Linked DNA regions of Homo sapiens: regions 1, 3 and 4 are each linked to region 2. The links are contacts of gene promoters, found by promoter capture Hi-C in blood cells and fetal thymus (Javierre and others, 2016). All regions are on one chromosome and are shown on one strand. Each heading gives the region's core, a stretch centred on a gene start or on the middle of the fragment in contact. The rest is flanking DNA. Distances are from core to core; before and after follow the strand shown. Region 1 overlaps TACC1 (transforming acidic coiled-coil containing protein 1). Region 2 holds the start of HTRA4 (HtrA serine peptidase 4). Region 3 overlaps TACC1 (transforming acidic coiled-coil containing protein 1). Region 4 has its middle 7.3 kb from the start of TACC1.

Evidence for each region. The method cuts DNA at HindIII sites, captures the fragments that hold promoters and counts their contacts. A CHiCAGO score of 5 or more calls a contact.
Region 1: a contact is called between a fragment that was not itself captured here and the fragment with the promoter of HTRA4 in region 2, in 9 of 17 cell types (total CD8 T cells, non-activated CD4 T cells, naive CD8 T cells and 6 more). The highest score is 8.4, in total CD8 T cells.
Region 3: a fragment that was not itself captured here is called in contact with the fragment with the promoter of HTRA4 in region 2 in 8 of 17 cell types (total CD8 T cells, total CD4 T cells, naive CD8 T cells and 5 more); the score reaches 8.3 in total CD8 T cells.
Region 4: a fragment that was not itself captured here is called in contact with the fragment with the promoter of HTRA4 in region 2 in 2 of 17 cell types (monocytes and total CD8 T cells); the score reaches 6.4 in monocytes.

What each region holds. Positions count from the first base shown.
Region 1 is chr8:38,797,097-38,801,267 of GRCh38, reverse strand. The region is part of intron 2 of TACC1 (transforming acidic coiled-coil containing protein 1); the gene reads right to left. Among named protein-coding and RNA genes, the nearest start is that of TACC1, 12 kb to the right of the region's middle. RefSeq lists enhancers at 3,385-3,544, 3,615-3,754, 3,874-4,171. The HindIII fragment of the contact is 2,900 bases long and covers 974-3,873 here.
Region 2 is chr8:38,972,088-38,975,995 of GRCh38, reverse strand. HTRA4 (HtrA serine peptidase 4) reads right to left here and starts at 1,768. Exons shown (of 9, transcript NM_153692.4): 1 at 1,267-1,768; 2 at 866-965. The coding sequence starts at 1,732. PLEKHA2 (pleckstrin homology domain containing A2) reads right to left here. Exons shown (of 12, transcript NM_021623.2): 12 at 2,084-3,908. RefSeq lists an enhancer at 1,132-1,191 and a silencer at 1,372-1,601. The HindIII fragment of the contact is 7,181 bases long and covers 1-3,908 here.
Region 3 is chr8:38,817,613-38,821,445 of GRCh38, reverse strand. TACC1 (transforming acidic coiled-coil containing protein 1) reads right to left here. Exons shown (of 13, transcript NM_006283.3): 3 at 811-1,924. Among named protein-coding and RNA genes, the nearest start is that of TACC1, 32 kb to the right of the region's middle. The HindIII fragment of the contact is 2,107 bases long and covers 1,247-3,353 here.
Region 4 is chr8:38,777,977-38,781,978 of GRCh38, reverse strand. It overlaps a transcript of TACC1 not described here. Among named protein-coding and RNA genes, the nearest start is that of TACC1, 7.3 kb to the left of the region's middle. The HindIII fragment of the contact is 1,490 bases long and covers 1,918-3,407 here.

The DNA of each region.
Region 1 (4,171 bases), core at 1,174-3,673, 180 kb after region 2:
AAGGCATAAGAGACAAAACAAGTAAACTGAACGTTATCAAAATTAAGAACTTTTGCACTTCAAATGACACCATCAAGAAATGAAAAGACAATGGAAGAAAATATTTAGTCACATATCTAATAAGGAATTTGCATCTAGAATATATAACTTAGTGATAAAAAAGATAAATAACCTAATTAAAAAGTGGGGAAAGAATCTGAATAGACATTTCTCTAAAGAATATATACAAATACCCAATAGCTACATGAAAAGTTGCTCAATATCATCAGCCATTAGGGAAATGCAAATGAAAACCAAATGCAAATCAAAACTACTCCACACCTACTGGCATGGCTATAACCAAACAGACAGACAATAAGAAGTGTTGGAGAGGATATGGAGAAATTGAAACGCTCAAATACTACTGGCAGAAATGTAAAATAGTGCAGCCAGTTTGAAAAAGTTTGGCAGTACCTCAAAATGTTTGACATGAAGTTACCATATGGCCTAGCAATTCTACTCCTAGTTATATACCCGAGAAATGAAAACATAAATCCATGATGTGAATGTTCATAGCAGCATTATTCATCATAGCCAAAAGTGTAAATAACCCAAATGTCCGTCAACCAATAAACGGGTAAATAAAATATAGTATATCAATAAAATGGGGTATTGTTCAACAATAAAAAAGGAATAAAGTCCCGATACTTGCTACAACATAGCTGAACCTTGAAAACATGGTTAGTGAACTGATTCAGTCATACAAGACTACATATTCTACTACTCCACTTACATGAAACGTTTAGATAATCAAATCTATTGAGACACAAACTAGATCATCAGTTACCTAGGACTGGTGGTGGGAAGGAAGAGGAATGGAGTGTGACACCTAATGGGTATAGGGTTTCCTTTGGGGGTGATAAAATGTTCTAAAAATTAAATTGAGATAATAGTTGTACAACTCTGTCGATAAATTAAAAACTATCATAAAGCTTTTAAATGGTGAATTGTATGGCAGGTAAACTATATCTCAATAAAACTATTTTTAAAAAAGAACATGGAGGCTCAGACCCGAGGGAAATGGAGCAGGAGGAATGTCCTGTGATTTCTAGTAAAATGTTCAACTATACCACACAGATTTGCTCTGTTGTCCAGGCTGGAGTACAGTGGGGCGATTACGGCTCACTGGAGCCTCAACCTCCCAAGCTCAAGTGATCCTCCCACCTTAGCCTTCTGAGCAGCTGGGACTAAAGGCACAAGCCATCATGCCCTGCTAATTTTTTGTTTGTTTGTTTTTGGTAGAGTCGGGGTCTCATTTTGTTGCCCAGGCTGGTCTCAAGCAATCCTCCTGCTTTGGCCTCCCAAAGTGCTGGGATTACAGGAGTGAGCCAGCACACACATCCAAAGTACATGCTTTAAATAGTGTCTTATGTGTGTCACTTGGAGAGACACATGCTTGAGAGAGGTGGTAGGTCTCACCATCCCATCAATTTGGGGTTTTAAATTTCTCTTGAGGAAGCCCACATGTGCTACATAAATTCTATTTACAGAAAGAGGTGAAAAAAATGACATCATCCCTCTTTTCCACAACAGATGTAGCCAAGTATGGTATATGAAACATCCTAGAGTTATAATTGTCAAGCCCAAAAGGCTTTTTTTACTTTGTGGGCAGGGGGATTTTTAAAATTCTAACTTTTAACATTTGCCTTCTTCCTTTTAACATTTGACCTCCAGATTTGCGGGGGAATTTCTTCCCTCACAAATTCCCTATCTTTTGCTGCTAAAACTTCTTGGGATGCCAAGGCGGCCAAGAGGTCTGGGAAACAGGACAGGGCTAGCTCCCTCCAGACTCGGAGCCCCACAGGGGCCTTACTCTTTGTATCCCTGGGAGCAGAAACTGAGCGTCCAAGACAGAGCTGATGCTCAATCAGTGCCCACTGCAGGGCAAGTGTCTGATACATAAAGGACTCCTCCTCACCTCATCTGTCGCATACTGAGAAGGCCTAGCTAATTGTTCAGTGATGCCGCAGCTCAGCTCTAGGCTAACGGCTGGGGGATGGCTTGGCATAGCTCTTCCCTTGGCCCTTTGCCCTGAAGGTCCCACTCCTCCTTTCCGTGCCTTGGTCTTGCCCTCCCAGCTCTCCTCCCCCACACTGAATCAAGGGCTTCAGGAGGGAAACAAGCGTGATTCTGGCACCAACCCTTTCTGCTCAAGTGGTCTGCCCTGAGGAGACTGTTAATCAGATGTATATTAGCATTAATGCTAAAAGTCCAAAATTTGAGTGTTTTTTTCCCCCAGTTTCATGTCTTTGGGTTCCCAGTCTCTCTGATTCCTCCAAAGTTGAAGTGTATTTTATATATGTTCGTTCTCACTTAGTCATCAGCCTTAAAATGGAGAAGTACACAATTTATTGTCCAGGGTTGGAACAACCGTACAATAGGCCCTTTTCCAGGAATGCGGGATACAATCTAAGGGTATGGGCTGCATAGCTCACATTTCCCCAACAACTGCTGGGGCCCAGGATCCCCGGAAGCATGGGAGAGGGGTGGGTCAGCGGGATTCTGAGTGGGTGAGTCAAGGCAGACCATCCTCTTAGGTACATCATAGTTTTAAGCTGTCTCACCAACCAAAGCAGAAAAATACACATACACACACACACACACACACACACACACACACACGCAGAACCCAGACAACAAACTACCTGTTTAAACCCCTTCCTAACCTCCAAAAAACCCCCAAACAAAAACATTACCCAGAAGTCACGGTAGGGCAAATTTCATTGCTTTTTTAAGAGACAGGGCACCAGCTACACTGCTGTTCTCCTGAGATAAGCCTCTAACTCCTGAGAGAGGCTCCCCCTAAAACCTAAGACTCTACAGGTAAAGAATAATCTGGAAAACCACTTGGTAAACTGAAAAAAGTTTGTACTAAGGATGAAGAAAGCACTTCAAATTTCCAAAACAGCACTTTATGCTATTTTATTTAAAAAGACACCCAAGCCAGGTGTAGTGGTACACGCCTGTAGTCCCAGCTACTCGGAAGGCTGAGTCAGGAGGATCCCTTAAGACTGGGAGTTGAGGCTGCAGTGAGCTATGATTGTACCACCACACTCCAGCCTGGGCAACACAGCAAGACCCTGTCTCTAAAAAAAAAAAAGGAAGAAAAATAAAAAGAGACCCAAACCGTATCTCTAAAGGCCAAGATTATAAGGTAAGAGGATGGGACTTGCTTATCAGGAAGTGTCCACCCACCAGGAAGCCAAAGCCTCCTCCAGAGAAGCCAATCCAGCAATGAATGTGTCTTCTCTTCTCACTCATGAGATGCCCATGGGTTCTGGAACCATCTGGATTTGTTTGAGGTTATATTTTAGACAGAGTAGAAATCCCCTTCCACAGACAGAAATCATAGAAGGCCCTCCCCACAAAACTTCTCCCCCATCCCCAACCTATTCTGGCAGGAAGAGCAAGGGGGGAAAGAGCACGTGCTAACAGATGGGGCTCCTGTGCAGAGATCTGGGATTGTGTAACTTCAATCTGTTGCTGCCAAACAACCATAATGTGCATCTCTTCAGAAATAATTACTGGAAAATTCAAAATACCAACTGCCTCTCTCACAAAGTAGCAACCACCCACATGGAGCTGAGAAGCTGATGCTGGATAAAGAAGAAGAGGGAGGAATGTTCAGCAAGAGAGGGGCCTCCAGACAGAGCAATCTCAGCCAGCATGCTGGGTGCATGAGACACATCCATGGCAGGACCACAAGCCAATAGGCGGCTATATAATTTCTTCAGCCAGTTCTGCTCCTGTTTAAGAAAGAGGGCAGCAAGAAGGAGTGGGGTTAGGAAGGGCATAGTGAAGAGACGCCAAAGGAAGAAAGCAATGGGAAAAGCTTTGCCATCTAAGAATGTATACCCTTGTATATCCTTTCATGCAAGTTTTTTAAAAAGTGGAAAAGGGCTTTGTGGTAGCCAGCCTCCAAGACGGCCCCTATATGTCTCACCTCCTGGTACACATGCCCTTGGACTGACCTGTGTAACCAAAAGGATACTGTGGAAATAAGTGTGACTTTTGAGGCTAAGTCACAGAAGACTCTGCAGTTTCTATCTTGCTTGCTCTTGGATCACTCACTCTGGGGCAGCCAGCTGCCATGCTGTGAGGATACTCAAGCAACCCAGCAGTGGTCCACATG
Region 2 (3,908 bases), core at 519-3,018:
TTTCCAGGGACACTGCTTCTTCAGAGCTGGTTAGTGTAGCAGCCCATGGGTTCTCTGCTGCGAAAAGACTGAACCCAATCCTAATACTAGAGGCAAAAGTCAGCCTCTTACCACAGTATCAAGGACCCAGGCAGGAGAGAATCAAAGGGCTCTGATTCTGGCTTAGTTTCCACCGCCAACTGGCCTCGTAACATAGTAACATAGGACAAATTAACCCTGCTCTCTGGGTCTGGATTTCCTTGTATCCAAAGTGGGGGCTGAGCAAGATCACAACCAAAATGCCTACTAAGCTGGATGTGGTGGCTACACCCGTAATCCCAGCACGTCGGGAGGCTAAGGTGGCAGATCGTTTGGGCCCAGGAGTTCGAGACCAGCCTGAGCAATATAACAAGACCTCGTCTCTACAAAAAAATACAAATATTAGCTGGGTATGGTGGCACCTGCCTATAGTCCCAGTTACTCCAGAGGCTGGGTTGGGAGGATTACTTGAGCCCAGCAGATGGAGCTGCAGTGAGCCGTGATCTGTCACTGCATTTCAGCCCTGGCGACAGAGCAAGACCTTGTCTCAAAAAAAGAAAAGAAATTGCCTACTAGCTCTTATATCTGACCTTAAATTTTGTCTGTGGCAGGAGGGGGAAAAAGCACCAGCCACCTAAGTGGGCAGGGGGAGCTGGGATTTAGAAGTCAGCATCCTTGTGCCTCTGCTCTTTGGTTAAATGACCTTGAACAGGTTATTCAACCTCTTTACGTCTCAGTTTCCTCACTGGTTTTTTAGGATTAAATGACGCTTGCGAAGGGTCTGGAGCAGGTAGGCACGCAGAAACCATTAGCTGGGACAGTGGAGGTCTTCCTCCTCCTCCTTTACCTGCCCCACAGCTGCACGTGAACCACCGATGGCGCCACCTTCTCCACCACCGCGGCGATGAAGTTGTAATTCCTCCTGAGCGGGCCTGCGCTTCTGGTCCCTATGAAAAAATACTGGCTCAAGAGTACGCCTCGAGGGAACCAGACCTGCTATCCTAGTTGGAAAAATGTTAAAGGCAAGACAGTGTTCAAAAGGTGCATGGGGAGGGAGAAACCACGTAGCAGCCGGTAAAGAGCCCCTGTTAAGGAGGAAAGGAAATCAGGAACACAGAGGTGTCGAATCCAGGAGGCAAATGACGCAGGAGGACCAGGCGCGAACTGTGCGGTCTCAGTGAGGTCTTGTTCCTTTACGCTCCTCCAGAGTTAGAAAGTGTTCCGAGGGCGCGCGCCCCCGCGGCTCACCTGTATCCCCGCAGTTCCCCCACTGCACAGGCACGGCCGGGACCTTGCCCAGGCGGCGCGCGGCGCGGTTTTCGGCCCGGAGCGCGCACATGCTGGGGTAGGTGCGCCTGTCGCTGCCGCACACGGCCCCTCCCAGCGTCGGGCAACCGCAGGTGCTGGGGAACCCGGGGCGCAGCGGCTGGAGGCACTGCAGCCCCGGGGCGCACGGTTGGCCCTGCGCCCCGCCGCAGACTTCACGCTCGGCCGCGGGGCAGACGCGGCAACAGCGGCACAGGTCGAACACCGGCGTGGTCCCCAGCGCGCAGGTGGGCAGCGCGGGGCAGCGCGTGGGCTGGCAGACCGCGGGGCAGGAGGGCTGGGTATGTAGCTTTTCAGCCCCGGCCCAGAGGACGGGCACCAGGAGCAGCAGCAGCCCCGGCAGGAGGCATCGTCCCAGCCCCGCGGTCCGCAGCTGAGGTCTAATCATCCTGTTCCTTCCTCGCTTCCACTCTTCAGTGACTTTACTCTGGACCTGCAAACCCTCCTAAATGAGAGACACTTTCTCCCGGCCACGGCGCCGCCTCCGCCGGCCCCCAAACTTTAAGGGGCAGAGCCTGGCATACCTCTGCATATACACACCCGTACATCCCCTACCACCCGCCCCCGTCGGCGCCCCGGAGCCAGGTTCTCCCCCAGGCAATGAGGGGAAGGTCTCTAGCCCTACCCGGAGCAGGAACCTACCTCCTGAAATCCCTAAAACCGACAATGAGGGCAGACTGATAAGAAAGCTCACCCACCCATGGTCAGAAGGTCAGTATTAGGAAAACACATGACCATATTTCAGTATTTCACATGGTTTTATTACAAAACAAGCCACAAAACAGTTTTAGAAAATTTTTGCTACATACCAATTAGGAGATCACATAAAATGAGAAGCGTAACAGTTTCCATGCACTCAGCCTAGAGCTTACAGCGAGTGCATTTCACAGCTGAAACATCACTGCTTTAAAACACAGAATCATGCTACCCCTTCATAAGCAGAGGGGGAGGAGGTCAAACAGTATGTTTTTGCCAAACGTTTGCTTTATCTGAACTCTATCTAGTATGAAGGACTGGCTGCCGCAGGCAATAACACAGAGAGGAAAAGGAACAAAGGAAGAAAAGGGTGCTGGCAGACAAGATTTAACAAACCTGTCCACTTCCGACATTTTGAAAGTTTATAAACAAAGCTCACTTGGGGACACTCAATTTCCAAAATGCTGTGACCTCCACATGTTATCTAATTTATACTGAAAACAAACCTACTAAACTCCACTCCTCAACTACTGAACCTGCTATTTATTCATGGGGTCTTTTTAGCCCATATAAGAGTATATTTATATTCAGAAATATAAAAGAAAAAAAATTTGCTTCAAGTAGACTAAGAAGCTGGACCTTAAAACTACTTTCTTTCTCGTGGGAGCTGAGTATTCAACTCAGAAATAGATGTATAACTCCAATATTCTGACCTGACATCAATCTCCATAATGTATACCTCAATACCCTTATGATGTCTCACTTAACACTAAAGGCCAAATTATTTTTACCAACCATCAGCTGACATTGAGTAAGCAAGTCTTTTGAAGATTTCAAAAGTAATAGATGGTGGCCAGGCGTGGTGGCTCACACCTATAATCTGAGTACTTTGGGAGGCTGTGAGGCAGGAAGATCACTTGAGCCCAGGAGGTCCAGGCTGCAGTGAGCCATGATCAGGCCACTGCACTCCAGCCTGGGTGACAGAGTGAAACACTGTTTCTAAAAATAAAAATTAAAGAATAATGGATGGCATTATTCAGCCATGGGGAGGACCACCTGAAATACTGTTACACACAGTGGGTCAAGACCACTTCAAAAGCCTTATGAAAATAGCACAACTCAGGCAAGGCTTTTATTCCACAAAGAAAATGCAGTACATTTTTTAGTTCCTTTAAAAAAAAAAAAACTCAGATTTACTCCAGAGCCTATGCACTTAGTCACTAATCTATACTGCATCCCCAACCTATTTTTTCCATTTGGTTCAATTTTATACATTTAAAACTAACTGCTTTGGTCAAATACGTACCATCTTTGGTTCACATTAAAAGATTATGGTCCAAAACTGGCCAGAAGTTAAGAAATATCAACAAAATAGGAAGTTTGAAATACAATTTAGGAATGGAATGCTTTTAGAGCTTGTTTCATTGAAGATAATAATTTATCTCATATTGAACTACATTAACGATGTTCTGGCTAGGTGCAGTGGCTCACACCTGTAATCCCAACACTTTAGGAGGCCAAGGCAGGAGGATCACTTGGGCCAGGAGTTTGAGAGAGCCTGGGCAACATAGCCAGGCTCTGTAGATAAAAAAAAATTAAAAATTAGCCAGGCGTGGTAGCACAACCCTGTAGTCCTAGCTACTTGGGAAGCTAACATGGGAGGATTGCTTAAGCCCAGAGATTCAAAGTTATGATGAACTATGATCACACCACTGCACTCTAGCCTGGGTAAGAGAGTGAGACCCTGTCTTTTAAAAATTAAAAAAAAAAAATTAAAAACAAGCAATGCTCTAATGTGGAATTCCCAAGTGTTTGCCAATTGACAAGAAGATTTCCATTTGACAGTCTTAGTGTCCTCGTTTCCCTTT
Region 3 (3,833 bases), core at 1,051-3,550, 160 kb after region 2:
CAGCTTTCTGTTTATGTAAAAAGTCTTCTTTCTACAAGACCCTTTTGGATCATTTCCCACGTTATTGACGCTACAGAGGTAAGTTACAGGACTGGAATTTCTGTTTTATCCATAGAGTATGAAGACGGTGGCCAGCAGTGACATTTGAATTGTCTATAACACGACTCCTAACAGTCCAGCCAGGATTTCTGAAAACCATCAAATCTCTACCTGTCTATCTCATGCCATTCTTTTTTTTTTTTTGAGATGGAGTCTTGCTGTCACCCAGGCTGGAGAGCAGCGGCGTGATCTCGGCTCACTGCAACCTCTGCCTCCTGGGTTCAAGCAATTCTCATGTCTCAGCCTCCCGGGTGGCTGGGACTACAGGTGTGCACCACCACGCCCAGCTAATTTTTGCATTTTTAGTAGAGACAGGTTTCACCATGTTGGTCAGACTGGTCTCAAACTCTGGACCTCAAGTGATCCACCTGCCTCGGCCTCCCAAAGTGCTGGGATTACAGGTGTGAGCCACCGTGACTGGTCTATTTTTTTTAAACATAAAAAAGTCTCTAGGGTCAAGGGAAAAGAGCTTAGCTGATTAAGCTAAGGATTCAGAAAAAAGACAACAATCTGAAAAGGAAACCTCTGGTATTTCTGATTCCACACAACAGTTAAGCCAAACAGTGAAGACTGCAGGATAACATTATAAGCTTTGTATGAACCTCGGTGCACCTCAAAGGTAAATTCAGTTCACCAAAGCCAAAAGTAGCTGGCTGCCAAACTCAACAGACAAGACACAGAGCACGACACCCAGCGCCCACTGTCACTCACGTTATTAAACGCGACTTTGCCTTCTTGGGTGATTCTAAGATTTCATTAACGTGATTACCAGTGGGAGAACAAAAGTCACTGCTTGTTAAGGTCGTAGTTGGTTTAAAGGGATCCATGGATTCGTCAAAGTTATCTGGGTCAAAGTGGTAGGAGCCCTCAGAAGAGAGGGGTGGGGAGTTCTGCAGAACAGAGTGGCTCCCAAAGGGGTTGAAGCTGGGGCTTTCCCACTGACTAGGATCTGGCTTGGAAGATGTTTGGGAGAGAGGCCCGTCTCGTGCCACTGGGTCTGTAGGCTGTTCTAAACCTGCTGACTTACTGATGCCATCTTTTTGTATCTTGGGAGTCAGTGTGCTACCCAGTTTCCTGCCAAGCTTCCTTGGAAGGGCTTTCCTGGCCTCTATGTTTCCTGTATCTTCTGTGAAATCAAACTCAAGCTTGAGAGGTGAGCTCCTCGACTCCTCCCCCAGCTCAACCCCTGAGTCGTTGGTGTCACTACTGAGAGTGCCGGGAGTTTCTTTAAGGTCAGGGGGAGACTTCTGGAACCTGGCATCTCCTAGCAAAGGACTTGTGTTCTCATCCAACTCTTCAGGACTGAAGTGATAGGATGCCTTGGGGAGAGGTGTGCCCTCCACAGCAGCGTTGGTGTCTGAGAACTCTCCTCCAATTGCTTTCTTCCTCAGGGGGACAGGCTTGGGCTTTCTCAGCTTGCTTCTTCTGCTGGGCACAAGCTCTGGACAGGAGTTGCCAGCTTTTAGATCAGCTTCTGCGGAGGCCTCGAGGGTGACCCCCATGCTGCCTTCTGTCATCGCCTCGTCCTGGAGGGCGTCTGGCGGGCTGGAAGGCAGAGCCTTGCCTGAGACTGCAGTTACACAGCCATGAGCTGCTTTTGTTCCGAGGACTGCCGAGATATCCGTGGAATCCTTCGTTTCTATTGAAAATGGCCTCACGATGGAAATTTTGCTAAAATCATGTTCAGGTTCTTCTCTGAAATTCTTGACTGAGTGAGAGTCAATGGCCTGCTGTGGCACTTCATTTTCTGAAGGTTTAGAACAAGTCTTAGATGAACATTTTTCAACCACTTCTGCTACAAGCTGTTCATCAGCTTCTTGTGATTCTAAAATGAAACACAAAAACCATCTATTAAAGAATTATCTGTCACTGGTAAGTATCCTCTCTTACCTGAATTCATATAAACAAATAGCAAGTTCTTCCCTCTTTGCTTTTATTAAGCATCTCTAAAGTTCAGGAAGGATGGCAGCACAGCCTGAAAGAGAAGAGCTGGCACAACACCCTAAAATGAATTTTCCTATCCCAAGTTGTGTATGTGCATTATCCAAGTGATACGAATAGTAAGTACACCAAAAGAGCTATTTAGAAAAAGGATAAATAGAGCAAGAGTCTGCTGCAATGTATTATTATGTGATGTTAACATTCTGTAGGGTAAAACTGGTCTGGAGGAGTATTTAGAAACCAACAGCTATGGTGCAGGGAGGCAGATTGGTGCTGAGACAGTTCCTAAGCACAGCCTGACAGCTTCAGGGTCAGAACTTTATGCAGTGAACAGATCTGAATCTTTGAATGTTAAAAACATAAGTATCTTGGGAGGCCAAGACGGGCACATCATGAGGTCAAGAGATTGAGACCATCCTGGCCAACATGGTGAAACCCCATCTCTACTAAAAATACAAAAATTAGCTAGACATGGTGGCACACGCCTGTAGTCCCAGTCACTCAGGAGGCTGAGGCAGGAGAATCACTTGAACCCGGGAGATGGAGGCTGCAGTGAGCCGAGATTGCGCCACTGCATTCCAGCCTAGACTCTGTCTCAAAGAAAAAAAAAAGAAGAAAAAAAAAAAGCCATGTATCCACAGAACAGAATTTAAAAAGACTGTTTCAAAAATAAATTTAAAAAATCTACTGTGACCAGCTCAGAATCATCTCTCTGTAGACCTAAAAACTAAAAGAACCAAATAAGAAAGCTAATTTGAAAAACCAGATATGGAAATGGCTTTAAAACAAATAGCCCTTATTTTACTAAGACACAAATTGTAAAACAATAAAGTTATTTTTTCTTTAGAACCTCTGTCTCTAAGTCGGACCAGGAATTCTCTAAATCACTTGTGAAAAATAAAAATCCTTTTTAATTGTGGTCTTACTAGGATAAGTGCTGCAAATATTAGGAAGGTGTGAATGAGGTAATTTCGTTAAAGCAAAAAGTGATTTCCTAACGTAGATATCTGAAACAAGAGTAGCACAGAAAAACTCAGTGAATTGGTTATAATATCTCATGATTTTAAAGGAAATTAAAAGATGACCCTCTAATCCTACTTCCTAATCCTAATCCAGGATCAGAGTCAAGTACCACTGGAATATCATAGCTATAGTTTTTATTTTTGTTTTTCTTGACACAGTGTCTCTGTTACCCAGGCTGGAGTGCAGTGGCCTGATCATGGCTCACTGCAGCCTTGACTTCCCCAGGCTCAAGTGATCCTCCCACCTCAGCCTCCCAAGTAACCGGGACCACAGTCATGAGCCACTAAGCTTGGCTAATTTTTATTTTAATTTATTTTTTATGTAGAGACAGGACAGCCAAGTTGCCCAGGCTGGTCTCACTGGGCTCAAGCAATCTGCCTGCCTTGGTCTCCCAAAGCACTGGGGTCACAGGTATAAGCCACTGCGTCCAGCCTGTTTTTTTTTTTTTTTTTTTTTTTTTTTTAGGGGTCTCTCACTCTGTTGCCCAGGCTGGAGTGCAGTGGTGTGATCACAGCTCACTGCAGCCTCAAACTCTGGGGCTCAAGCAATTCTCCCATCTCAGCTGCCCAAGTAGCTGGGATTTGGAATAGCTTTTTTAAAGCATTCACACACCTTTCTCATGAATCTTCTATGATTATTATTGGGTACTGGTTTACAAATTATACTTCACAAACATACTTCAGATATTCTACAAATGTCCAATTAAAATTTTTCTTTTAAATATATGTTTAACTATTATTAATACTAAAATGTGTTAAAACGTCTCAGTG
Region 4 (4,002 bases), core at 1,413-3,912, 190 kb after region 2:
TAAAGATTTACAAGAATGTAAAAAATAAATAAATAAATAAAATTAAAATAAAAAATAAAAAAGAGGGCTGTCCAAGTCCAACTCCAAGTCTGAGAGTTTTATACCTAGAGCTCAGACAAGAAAACCATCTGAAACTTCCTCTATGTTGTTTATAAATTTAAGATTCTAGTAAAGGACATTACTTCAAATTTGAGATATCTGCTTTACTACACTTACCTGTTTGTGGGGAGGGTGGAATTTAAGACTTGAATTAAAGAGGCTGAAGGAATTCAGGACATTTAAGTAGAATAATATTCCTGGCCAGGCGCAGTGGCTCACATCAGTAATCCCAACACTTTGGGAGGCCGAGGCAGGTGGATCACCTGAGGTCAGGAGTTCGAGACCAGCCTGGCCAACACGGCGAAACCCCGTCTCTACTAAAGATACAAAAATTAGCTGGGCATGTGGCACGCACCTGTCATCCTAGCTACTCAGACGGCTGACACAAGAGAATCGCTTGAACCCAGGAGGCAGAAGTTGCAGTGAGCCAGGATTGCATCACTGCACTCCAGCCTGGGGGACAGAACAAGTCTCCGCCTCAAAAAAAAAAAAAAAGAAGAATATTTCTTCTCCTACAGCCATTTTATTCCTTCTTCTTTTCCCCACCTCCAAAATAAAATAAATGTCCTAAACAATGCATCCTTATGGATTAGTAGAACATTAATCATATAGCCCAAATGTTTTGAGATCACCCTAATATAAAATATTCTACTCACTATCCTCATAAATATATTGTGAATCTTCAGGAGACCATACGTCTTCTTGTCACTAAGAAGTTACAAGGTAACAGATTGGGATGGTGGTTGGAAGGGGCAGTGAAAGGCAAAAGCAGATTCACTGCTAGGAGGATGTGGGGAGAAAAGGTCCACCCAGAAGAAAAGAATAAAATCACAAAAAGCTTTCAAAAATAACTGTGACACCAACTCCAACTTAATTCCTTAGTCTAGGGATTTGGGGGAATTTCATTACAGTAACTCATGTGTTTGTGACCAATAATCTTCCTGTATTTCTAAGAAATAAAAAGATGGGAAAATAAGCAGCCAACTCTGTGACATGATACACAGCATCCTGTAAACTCCAGCTTTTATCTCTTTGGAGTAAAATTTTGATTACTGTATTTTGGTCCTGAAACTCCAAGTTGGTAAAACACTGTTGCTAAGATGGCAATACCACCCAGTTAACTTACAGGGCTAATTTGATTTCAATCAAAATTCCGAGGGGATTTTTCTTAGAATTCGTCAATAATGTTTAAAAGTTTATCTGGAAAAATAAACTGGTGAACATATTTTAGATTTTGTAAAAAAAAAACAAAAAAAAACAACACCAACAAGAAGAGTGAAGAATAGACTAGTCCTACAAGACATTGAGACACATTTATGCAAAAATAGCCAGATCTTTGTTCTGTAACACAGAACAGAAAGCCCAGGAAAAGATCTTACAAGATACAGGAATTTATTATATACCAAAAAAGATGGCTTGAACCCGGGAGGCGGAGGTTGCAGTGAGCCAAGATCGTGCCACTGCACTCCAGCCTGGGCAACAGAGCGAGACTCTATCTCAAAAAAAAAGAACAAACAACAAAAATATAAAGAACATGTTACAATATGTAAGGAGAAGGAAGATTTATGATTGGAGCATAGTTGGCTGGCAATGGGAAAAAAGATCAAGTTAAACCCTTACCTCAGAGCATATACCAGGATAAATTCCAGATGGATTAGATGACTAAATAATAAAAATCGAACCATTGGGAGAAAACAGTCTACAAGCAACAGAATCTATCAGAGCTCTGTAGGAAGGATGAGGATCCAACTTACAAGTAATTAATGAAATCAGACACAAAATAAAGATAGATTTGGTTACATTTAAAAAAATGAAGCTTCTGACTGTGTGCCTTCAAGTTAAAAGGCAAACAACAGGCCATGGAAAAACAAAGGCTGTTAGTATTGTTATTACCTAAGGAACTCGTGAAAACAAGTAAGATCATTTAAGCCCCAAAAGAAAAGTGAACAATTATAACTGCTTACTATGTGTTAGACACTACACTTTACATGAATCGTCTCATTTAATCTCCCCCACTTACTCCTACAATCTCAGGAGGAAAGTATTGTTACGGCCTTTTTGTTGTTGTTAACAAGTTAACTTGGCTGCATTTCACCCTCTACAGCAGAGGCTTAGCAAGGAAGGGTTTCAGAAGGTCCTGGCCTCCCTGAAATTGTATGCAAAAAGTATGTGTGTGTGCATATTTGCATCAGTCTCTCCCTCTCCTCTTCCCCACATACAGTCAAGCCCCACTCCAGGAATAATGTTTTAGGTTGACTAAAGATTGATTTTCGAATCTGAAAGGGAACTAATATAAAATTCTTCAGTATAAGGAAGTACTGGCCAAAAAAGCCCTTATACGGAAAATCCAGACCTGCCAGAAGTTAGTGTAGAAAACAGCCAGCTTTGAAGACACCCGGAGGGTGGAAAAGGGCGGAGAGCAGGCCTAGCAGTGCTCACCACTCCAGGCAGGGTGTGCCCTTCCCCAAATGCCCAGTGGGAGCCCATGTTACTGGGCAGCCTGTGGGTTTCATCTAAGTGACTGTGTGGTGACCAAAGTGTGAAATGCTCATTTCAAGAAGGCATTTGCCAGTTGAGCCAAAGTACCATAAAAAAAGAGCATTTCAGCCAGGCATAGTGGCATCTTCCTATAATCCCAGCACTTTTGGAGGCTGAGGCAGGAGGATAACTTGAGCCCAGGACTTTGAGACCAGCCTGAGCAACATAGCAAAACCCCATCTCTATAAAAAAATTAAAAAGTAGCCAGGCGTGGTGGTGTTCGCCTGTAGTCCCAGCTAATCTTGAGCCCAGGAGGATCGCTTGAGCCCAGAAGGTCAAGGCTGAAGTAAGCCGTGATTGTGGCATTGCATTCCAGATTGGGTGACAGAGCGAGACCTTGTCTAAAAAGAAAAGAAAAAAAAAAAAAAAACCCAAGGACCCCTACTGATACAAATGAGAATCCTCAAAGGCACAAAAAATTGGGCCAGAGCATAAAAGGCATACTTTATGTGGGAGGTGCAAAAGGATTAATTTTAACATCTCTTTCTTTGGGATGCTCTTTCGCTATACTTCCTTTTAGGGTGGTTTCTTCCAAGAAACTATGTTGATGAGGGAAATGACACCCAGGAGCCTCTCCCCATCTGGGAAAAAGTAGCAAGGCTCAGCAAAGAAAGGAGGCATCAAACAGGTTGCCAAGGCCTGATTTTGTGAAGCAGGAAGCCTAAAAACTGGGGAAGCACTCTTTAAGAAAAATGCTAAAGGACCCCATGAACACAGTGCTAGGGCCACACTAGTATGAAGGGGCCCATGCAAGGGAGGGGACTGAAGCTTAGGCTTCCTCAGCTTCATAGTAAATTCAGCTCTGCCCAGAGAACAAAAGAGATTCCTGCCTGTGGCTCAGGAGTGGTTCAGCTGGCCTCAACTCAGTAAGTGAAATGTCCATTTATGGAGCGAGGGGGTCACACTGACCTCTGTCTTCTTAGAGGAAACAAAAATATTTAACTGTTGGAAACTGGATAAAACTGTCAAAAGATATCTCCTACACAGATTGTGAAACATAATTCATGGCTCTGTTCCTTCTGTACCCATTGTAAACACACACATACACACACACACACACACACACAATTTTAATTATTAAGATAAAAAAGCAAAAGGCCAGGTGTGGTGGCTCATGATTGTAATCCCAACACTTTGGGAGACGAAGGCAGGAGGATCGCTTGAGCCCAGGAGTTTGAGACCAGCCTGGACCACACAGTGAGAGCCCATCTCTACACACATGCACACACACAAAGATAAAAAAGAAAAACTATAATGCTTCTTTAACATTGTGTGTCTATGCACCTCTACTCTTTGAATTTCCACAAGATCACCATGGTAGAGCCTAATTCCCTCACCCCACATCCTGTATCCATCTGTATCCAT